Linked DNA regions of Homo sapiens: region 2 is linked to region 1. Evidence: promoter capture Hi-C in 16 types of primary human blood cells and fetal thymus (Javierre and others, 2016). All regions are on one chromosome and are shown on one strand. Each heading gives the region's core, a stretch centred on a gene start or on the middle of the fragment in contact. The rest is flanking DNA. Distances are from core to core; before and after follow the strand shown.

Region 1 (4,961 bases), core at 1,097-3,596:
CCTTCATCCATGTCTAAGACATTGGTGTCTGCCATGTCCCATCCTAAGTCTTCTCTTCCTGGCTGCCTTACTCCTCCCCCATGCTTGCCAGACACCTGAATGTATCCTTCCAGCTCCTGTCTACCCTCCTAGGAACTTTCCTTTTGGCTGCCTAAATGGCAGGGCACTCAGATGTCACAGAGGCACCCCCAACTCCACAAGTTTAAGACAGAACTCATTACATTCCTCCTAAAACTGCTCCTCTCTGTGTGTTTCTCTTGGCTAGTGGCACCATCCCTGCCTTAGCGCACCAGCCAGAAAACTGGGAGTCAGTCTAGACTCTCTTCTCTCCATTACCCTCTATGTCCAATCAATCACTAAGCCTTGTCTATTCTATTTCCTAAATATCTCTAGAGCTGTCCTAACCTCCCAAACAGCATTTCTGCTGCCTTGGTTCAGACCTAATTTTTCCTCTGGAAATAACCTCACTGTGATCTCTCTTCTATTTGTCTTGCACAGTGAAACCAGAGGAAACCTTCTAAAACACATTATCTAATAATACTTACAAACCTTAGAATCTGTCCTAGCTTAACACCTTTAACAGTTTCCCAACTACTCACCACCTCCAGGCAAGTTCTGGCTCCTTACACCCAGAGAGCCTTGTGTGGCTTGGCCTTGCTTACTTCACCTGCAGTCTAGCCGCACCTAGTCTCCTAGTTTCCAGGACACACCATGTACTTTGACACTTTCCTAACCTCTTCACTTGCTTCTGTTTGTGGAATGCCCTCCCCCCTCCACCACATCCTTGTTGGCCTTGTATTTCTTCCTTGTCTTTCAGAACTCTACACTGAAATCTCTACCAAGAGAAGCTTCTGAAGGGGAGTTAGCTGTTTCCTTTTCCATGCTTCCACAGGACCAGGTACCTGCACTTATTATAGTGCTAATCACATTTTCATTTATGCCTCTGTCTCCTCACCAGGCGGTGAGTTCCTTAAAGGCAGCACCATCACCTCTAAATCTCAGCACATAAGACATACCTGGTACACAGCAGGGACTTCGTAAGCTTTGTTAATGAATGACCCAGGGATCTGCTCTAGATCGTATCTCCTAAGTGGAGATACAATGAGGACTTTTCTCACCTCATTGTCTCATCTGCAAAAAATATGCTTGCACAGTGATCTGAAATGTCCTTTTCAGTGTTTAAAAATTTTACAAAACTATTTTATGTCGTGTAAACGGTTTTATAAATCCATTTCCTGCAGTGTTTTCATCTAGGAACCACAAAACTTTAGGAGCTGCATTGGTCCACCCTCTGTGACCAACTGTTTAGCAAAAAAGATCATAGTTCTTAATATGACCGGGATAAGGCTGATTTTCATCCTACCTACCTTAATTTCATTGTGGCAATAACAGAACTAGTGTTTTCAATACTGACACTATATCTTAATAAATAATTATATATTATTAGAACTTATATAAAACCAGGTTTGCTGGAAATCAGGTTCTCAGTTGCAAAAATGAGATCACCAAATCATTCGGTACTTTTTTTTTCTTGGTTTTCCTAAGCCCAGGCCAGGTTGCTAATTAGGTAACTTTTTATCATAATTACCTAGTCAGCCTTAATGGCTTCACACACTCTGCTCCGTTTCACTGGTCCTGTAGGGCCGCTTTTTCAATTGTTAAAACAGCTGCTGAGTTTCAAATCGGAGGAGGCTCGGTCTGCGCCGAGGGGGAAGCGCTCCCTGAGTGAAGGCTGTGATAGGCAGGCGTTCGGGTGAAAAGTGGGACATGAATGCACAGTTTGCACACTCTGCTTTCCGCCTCCAACCACCAACCTTCTGGATTTAACACGTCCCCCTCCCTGCCCCCAGATCAACCCCAGAGTTTCCCTCTATTGTGCACCCCGGTCTGCTTGACAGTGTGATGGTCCCGCGTGCGCGTCTCCTGGGTTTTGCAGCTTTGTCGGGGGCTCGGTGGGCCTCCTTCATTCTCCCCGAGTGGCGCTAAGGTTAGGACAGCAGCGTGTCCCTCGCGATGCCGCCCGCGAGGGTCCTGTTTGGGGAGCGCTGGGTCGCTGAGCAGGGTGGTGTGTGTGTGAGAGAAAGAGAGGGAGGGAGGGCTACAGGGAGAGAGAAAAGGAGGGAGAGGGTGTCTGTGTGTGAGTGTGTGTATGTGTATGAGTGTGTGTGTGTGTGTGTGTGTGTGCGTGCGCGCTGGCGCGCAGCGGGAGGGAGAGAAGGAGGGACGGAGGGGGAGGCAACGGGCAGAGGAGGGAGGGGGCGGGCGGGCAGCGGTGAGGCGGGAGGGGTTAGGGCTGGGAGGGGAAGAGACTCCGGGCTTCAGCAGTGACACTCGGGAGCGAACACACACTCCCCACTTCCAGCCGCGAGAGAGTGGAGCTAACTGAGCAGCGCACCCGCCACGGCCGCTGCCGCCCCGTGCGCCCGGCTCTCCCAGCACCCCGCGCGGCGCTCCAGCCAGGCGCCTGTGCGACTAGCGGCGGCCGGCGAAGCCCGCGCCAGCCCCGCGGGTCGCTGCGGCATCCTCCCGCCGCCCAGCCCCCGCACGCTCCCTGCAGTTTAAAAGGACCTCCCGCCGCTTCTCGGCGCTGCCCCGGGATTCCCCAGCCCCGCGCGGCTCCCTACTCCACTTCGCAGCAACTTCGGCGACCGCGCGCCGCCCGCCCTCGCCCGCCTTTGAAGTTTGCTGTGCCGACCGCAAAGTTGGGACACTTCAGCGGATTGAATTTTTCTCTTTTATCTGCCTCCGTCCCCGCCCTCCAGGCTTCTCGTTCCTGGATATTGGTGCTTAGCATCTTGGCAGGGTCCGGGGACGTGGACTATTTCGCACACCACACCACGGGGAGGGATTTTTTTCTATTTTCCCTACGAAAAACAGATCTTTTTAAGGTAAGTGGGGAGAGGAAAGCAATGCCCCAGAGACCCGACGCCTTAGCCCGCCACCCTGAGACCTAGCACAAGGAGCGTTCACGCCCGAAGGGTCATCCGAGATGGGGGCTCGAGGCACGCGCCCCCAAATCTTCAAGGCCCAAGAAGCTTCTCAAGGGCGCCCTATCCGTAGGAGCTGAGGGCATGAGGGGCAGGAGCAGGTTTCCCTCGTTTTTTTTTTTTTATTGTTGTTGTTGTTTGTTTGTTTGTTTGTTTTTAATTTAGCTGCTTTCGAAGCTGGGCGGCCCGGAGAGATGTGAGGAGGTGGACAGACAGCGCAAGGGCGGGGAAGACCTGGGACCCGGGAGCTCGGGGTGCAGTGGGGTCTGGGGAGCCGCGGAGCCTTTATCCCGGACTTAGCCTGGACACTTACTTTGCCCGCCTGCCAAGAGGGCTGTTGCCTCCCTTTCCAGGTTCATGCCCTCCGCCCGCCGCTAGGGAAAGTCTGCGGGACTGGGGTTTTGCAGAGGGCGTCTGCGTGTAGGGCGAAAAGCTAGAGGTCCAGGCAGCGCACGAGTTCTTGGTGGGCGTCTGGGAGCTGCGCAGCCGGGGCCGGGAGTTCGGTTGGCCCGACCCCCAACCGCTCTGGCTCCTCATTTGTCCTCTGCGTGGTAGGCGAGCATCGTTATAGAAACTTCCTTGGGCTGAGCGAGGTGGCCTGGGACCGGCTCATACTTTCTTCCGGAGAGCAGAGCGGCCACCGAGGTGACGCCCCCTACGGCCCCAGCCAGGAGACTCGGCTTCGTGCCCTCGTCCTGTCTGTGCGTGAGTTGGGGTTCGCTCTCACCCGCGCTACCTTTCTAACTGAGCGGAGTCGCCGCGGCCCCGATAACCTAGGAGTCCGAACGAGTGATTGCAGGTCCCAGCTGTTTTCTTGGAGGCACTTTGCAAACTGCTGAATTTGGAGTGCGGTTTCGTTGCATTGTGCGCTCTCGGTTCACCTTTCTGCCCGCACCCTATCCCAGGCCCAGGCGTGAGAGCTCCCGGCAGTTCCCCGGACCCGCCCCGCATCAGCTCCTCGGAGTTTGCCGCGGGCACCTCTACGCTGTCTCTGAGCTGTCCCTCCGGCCAAGTTGCGGTTCCCCTCCTGGCCCCCTTCGGGGCGCTGTCCATTTCTTGCTCTTGGGTACGGGTGGCTCCCTAAAACCAAGACCTTGAGCGGGAAATGAACCTGAGTGTATGTCTGGGTTTTGTTGTTGTTGTTATGTTTTTTCCTTCTTTTCTTTAAATTTATTTACAGAGTTCTTTTTAGCAACTTTGTTGGGTTGATAAATTTGCTTCTCATCTGTCGATCCCGCTAAATCACAAAGAAGAGTTTATTTTTTCATTTAGTTGCTGCTTTCCCCAAACACACTACCCTCTCTTTCCCCCCTCCACCCCTCCTCCTGCTGCCTCGCTTCCTGAACCCTTTTTCTTTTCTGACGGAGGGAATCTCCGCACCTCCTCCTCTCCTCCTCCCACCCGGTCCCTGAGCGCCTGTGAGAACCAGGGGAGTCATCAATGGAAATAAATAGGACTCCGCTCCATTCTCCGCCCCCTTCAAACAAGTAAAATCCTCCCTGGGTTCGGAGAAGTAGAGATAAAACATCCCTCCCAAGGGAGCGGTTGCAGGGGATTTGATGGGATTGAATTGTTTTATTATCTTGAAAGAAGTGATGGATGGATCCGAGAGGGAATATGTATATAAAGCAGAGTGTAGTGAGGGCGATCGGTATGATTATTCATTATTGTTTGTTAAGAGTGATAATAAGGCCGCAACCTTCGCTCAGACTGTGTTTATACTGGGGTTTGAGTTTATGTCAGTCTCTTATTACAGTGGTTTCAGAAAGTGAAAACACCAAAACCGTATTAATTCTTCAGTCATTCTGCATATGGGATTAATCAAATGTCAAAAAAGATACTGTCGTTTTACCACAGTTTTAATCTATGATCTTTTAGAAGGTTGCACTCTTATAAAATGTCATTTGCCTCCATCTGTCTTCTTAAAGTTTAAAAAACTTGGCAACATAATTAATTATGGTCCCAATTCCCATT
Region 2 (4,961 bases), core at 797-3,296, 360 kb after region 1:
AGTATATTAAATTAATCAGCAATAGCATGTATAAACATGTGAAAAATATCAGTATGTGAGTGGATAATGTGTGTGTGTAAGTATATAAGACATTATTCAGCTAAAGCAATGATTAATACGTGTTTGCATTTTTAAACCTCTTGTGATAACTGCAAAGCCCTCATGCCTCACCAGAATCTCAGTATACTAGCAGGGAGTCAGTCTTTTAAGCATCTGTATGAGCAATGTCTAGGATACTCACCCAGATAGTGTCTCCTAAGAGGAAATTTGGGAAGGAGTAAAAGGGTTGTTCTTAATCTTTGGTGCCCAGGTCTTGATTTTCATTGCCTTTTCTTCCCTGATACCTCTTCTTGCTCTTAGGGTGGCATTTTGACAGTTCTGTCTTAGGATGTTCTCTGCAAAACCCTCACCTGTCATTGGCAGCTGCCATGGTGCCATGCCCATCATGTCTTCACAACTTCTGGTCTTACAAGTAAAGTGTAGGGATTAAGCTTTTTGTTTCTTCTCATATACTTCATAATAATGTCTTTGTATGTTTTTTTAAAATAAAAGTTTAAGTAGAATATTTGGATATAATACAAGCCTTAATAAGAAATCCCAGCAACTTCAAACAAATTCTGATCCAAATACTTAAAACTACCTTTTCATTTTCAAGTTTTTGAAAAACTGTGGAATATTTGAAGAAATATTTGAAGTTGTGAAAAGACATTATGTTTATTCAGACTAGAGGGGAAAGCACATTATATTTTTTGGACTGCAAAGAAAATTGAACATTTTTCCTGATGACTGGGGAAGACTCATTAAACATATTTTTTTACATCTTTAAAATTACACACATAGTTACTTTCATTTCTGGCAACATGGTAGATACTCCATATCCCGGAAAAAAGGCCCTATAAGGAGCACTTATTAATGCTGGATAAAACAAAGCAAACAGAAAACATCTGAACTTGTAAAAAAAGTAATGATAGCCCTCAGGATTCAATGAACAAAAATGGAGCTGAAAGTGAGTGATAAGTTCAAGTTGAGGATGCAGCACCTGTAGGGTAATCTCAAGACTTGATTTTTCATGGTGTCAGGGAAAATGAGACAAACTGTATGTTCAGATTATAGGGCAAGATGGAATCCCATACCACTTTTATTCTTGGACTCTAGAAATGCTATGCTCAAAATAAAATTGGGGACTAGACATAATCTGCCTTTGGTAAAGGTTGGTACTTGAGACATTTAACTGTTTTGGAGTAATTGCTGGCTAGGGAAAGCTTTCTTCTTAGAGTTTATAACCGCAATCCTTCCCTCAAGTGTGGAGTTCAGACTTACAATATCTGCCTCACCAGAAAACCCTAAGGCAATAAATCAACTTAAAACAGTCTTTGATTGATAGCATCCCAGAGTGCCTGGCAGCAGCAAACACAAATGCTGTCTGGAGGGACTTACCCTCAACCTAGGGGTCACAGGATTTTAACAGATAAAGACCACCAAACGTGTCCTCACTATTTCAAATCCCAGACACCCAAGGAAACAAAAGCCACGAGCAGGAGACAGGAGAAACCACAAAAAAGAGAACTAGACTTCCAGACATCTTAAGATAATGCTTTATCAGATAAAGTAAATTATATAAATGCCTAGAATATTTTCAAATAGGCATAAACAACATGCGTTGCTTATGAGAAAAATGAGATTGTATCAAAAATGGAATTGGGAAATAAGCAAATAAAACTTCTAAAGGTTAAAAATATGATAACAGAAATTAAAAGCCCTAGGGTCCCATTAAACAGCAAGCTGAAAAGAGAATTGATCAACTGATTTTTAAAATCAATTGACTTTAAGAAATTAGAGTACAACAGAAAGAGATGGAAATGTTAAAGAGATATTAAGAAATATGAAGAGTAAAATTAGTCTATTATATATCTCATTGGATTTGTAGACTTTCATTCAACAACAAATGAGAAAAGTAGTCATATTCAGTCAAAAACAATTTGCCACCAACAGATCCTTGGAAAATCAGATACATAAAAAAGCCTGAAAAGTAAAGAAATTGTTAATCATGTGTAAAGCTAAATCACGTTGATTATATAAAATGATAATGATTTCATATTAGGCATTGCAATGGACTGAATATTTGCATTCTCCCCAAATTCTTATGTGAAATCCTAACCATCAGTGTGATGGTATTAGAGAGTGGGACCTTTGGGAGCTGATAGGGTCATGAGGGTATAGCTGTCATGAATGGGATTAGTGCGCTTATAAGGAACTGAAGAGACCAGAGTACTTTCCTTCCACCATGTGAGGACAGGGAATTCACAACCCAGAAAAGGGCCCTCATGTGAACCTGACTAGGCTGACACCCTGACCTTAGACTTCTAACCTCCAGAATGGTGAGAAATAAATGTCTGTTGTTTATAGTGACCCAGTGTATGGTATTTTATTACGGCAGCTCAAAATGACTAAGACAAGCATTAAAAATCAAGATATAAATAAAATACTGCTCTAAGTGTAAGAGGATCGTTCTACAGTACCTGTATTATTCAGTAGGAGATAAAACATATGGATAAACTTTAGTTTTAAACATACAAAGTAAAATATTTTAAGGATAACCATTAAAAGGAAAGAAATAGAGATAATAACTTTTAAAGTAGTACCAGGGGAAAGGATCAATCTAAAACATGTAATAAAATATATGGGAAAAACTTGTAAAACAAATAGGATAATAGTAGTGCACAAAATAAATGTTGGAAATATAGTCAAGTATATCAGTAATCACAAATTTGTAAAGAGGCAAAACTTGCCATCTTAGATAGAAGTAATCTTTGGATCACAAAAAAGCTTGGGTTAAAAAAATCTAGTCATATGCTGTTTATAAAAGTCACTGCCCATGCATAAGGATATAGGCTGTTTGAAAGCAAAAAGATGAGTATAGCAGGCAAATACTAATTTTAAAAAGCTTTTATAGCTATATGGCAGTCATATTAATTTCAAGGTAAAAAAGAATTATTACAGATAGAAAAGGTCATGTCAAAATGATAAAAGGTTCTATTTTCCAATAGCATAATAGTTTAAAATTTGTATATACTTACATACCTAATGAAAGTCTCAAAACATCTAAAATAAAGTGATAGAATCACAAGGATACAGTGAATATTGGAGTATAAAATGGTTTATTAGCTTGGTTTATTAACTTTGCAGAGTTATTTGTTTATTCATAGAAAAGTTGAAGATTCAGTCCCACATCTAGGTACACATGCCTTAGAGAATTGCTTTCACCTATATTCAAGTGTACAAGATTTTTTCAGAGGAACATTATTTATAAGAGTGAACAACTGGGAATAACTTAGCTATCCATCACTGGAGAATGTATATAAATAAATTGTGGTATACAGCTATTTAATGTCATATGCCCAACATTGAAAATTAGTAAATATGAGCTACATATGTTCACAAAAATGAAAGCGAGGACTAGAAACTTGTGAGGATAATGTTGAACAATGATAAAGTACATCTCAACAGAACACACACAAAAAGTGGATACGGAATGATAGTATTTACATACTTTCAAATGGCAAAATAATACTCTATCTTAAGGTTCCATTCATACATAGGTAGTAACAATGTAGAGAAAGGCAAGGGAATGGTACTTAACATATCTGAGGGAGCTGTCATCCCTGAGGAGATGGGAGAGTGCTGCAGGTGGTGGGGGAGGAGGCAATTGAGAGCGGCACCTGTATTGAAAAGGTTGGACTTCTTAGGCTAGTTGGTGGGCAGATGTATGTCTCTCTGGTTATTTACATACTGTTTTTTATAGGTCTGCAAAAAAAGTTATAGATTTTTTGATACTAGAGAGAAAATATAAATACAGCTTGTTAACAAGAAACATGCATACACTATCTCAATTCAAAAATGTTTTTGTTTTCTTTTTGAGAGGGAGTTTTGCTCTTGTCGCCCAGGCTGGAGTGCATTGGAGTCATCTTGGCTCACTGCAACCTCCGCCTCCTGGGTTCAAGCGATTCTCCTGCCTCAGCCTCCCGAGTAGCTGGAATTACAGGTGCCCGCCACCATGCCCAGCTAACTTTTGTATTTTTAGTAGAGACGGGGTTTCACCATGTTGGCCAGGCTGGTCTCAAACTGCTGACCTCAGATAATTCGTCCGCCTTGGCCTCCCAAAGTGCTAGGATTACAGGCATGAGCCACCATGCCCAGCCCAAGAATGTTTATAGCAATATTTTTGAAGATATATTTGATTAAAAAAATGGATCTCACTGCAAATTTACCTAAATCTGAACGAAACTTTTTGATGATGCACTAAGTAGTAACTTGCAAGCTGTTGGAATGGAATAATATTAATTAATTTATTTCACAATTAATCCGGGCTAAAAAGATGGTGATAAAAAGATGGTGATAAAACTTAGATGACTAAGTTCCTGGTATCAAAGAAGGCTAAGGAATTCTAAATTATTTTTTCTCTTCATTTTGAGGTACTTCTTTGCCTTAAGTTTTCTTTATTGTTTTTATAATAAAAATGCCTCATTTAAAAATGTAATTTAGATTTTATAAAAGAACATCCTACTGGAAAAAGATGAGGTAATAGAAATGAAAACACAGGTGCAGTGGCTCACACCTGTAATCTCAGCACTTTGGGAGGCCAAAGCAGGTGGATAATTTGAGGTCAGGAGTTTGAGACCAGCCTGGTCAACATGGTGAAACCCCATCTCTACTAAAAATACAAAAAAAAAAAAAAAAATAGCTGGGTATGGCAGCAGGTGCCTGTAGTACCAGCTACTCAGGAGGCTGAGGCAGGAGAATTGCTTGAACTAGGGAGGCAGAGGTTGCAGTGAGCCAAGGTCGTGCCACTGCACTCCAGCCTAGGTGACAGAGGGAGACTCCATCACAACAACAAAAAGGAAATACATAAATCACAGTTGATTCATTTTTAAACTTATCCCCCAAAATCTGTAGAAAATTTA

The links. The method cuts DNA at HindIII sites, captures the fragments that hold promoters and counts their contacts. A CHiCAGO score of 5 or more calls a contact.
Region 2: a fragment that was not itself captured here is called in contact with the fragment with the promoter of NDNF in region 1 in 3 of 17 cell types (megakaryocytes, naive CD4 T cells and naive CD8 T cells); the score reaches 6.3 in megakaryocytes.

The regions. Positions count from the first base shown.
Region 1 is chr4:121,069,920-121,074,880 of GRCh38, reverse strand. NDNF (neuron derived neurotrophic factor) reads left to right here and starts at 2,346. Exons shown (of 4, transcript NM_024574.4): 1 at 2,346-2,888. NDNF-AS1 (NDNF antisense RNA 1) reads right to left here and starts at 3,519. Exons shown (of 3, transcript NR_187407.1): 1 at 3,301-3,519; 2 at 1,017-1,131. The HindIII fragment of the contact is 1,993 bases long and covers 1,045-3,037 here.
Region 2 is chr4:120,711,242-120,716,202 of GRCh38, reverse strand. The region is part of intron 14 of PRDM5 (PR/SET domain 5); the gene reads left to right. Among named protein-coding and RNA genes, the nearest start is that of PRDM5, 210 kb to the left of the region's middle. The HindIII fragment of the contact is 1,564 bases long and covers 1,265-2,828 here.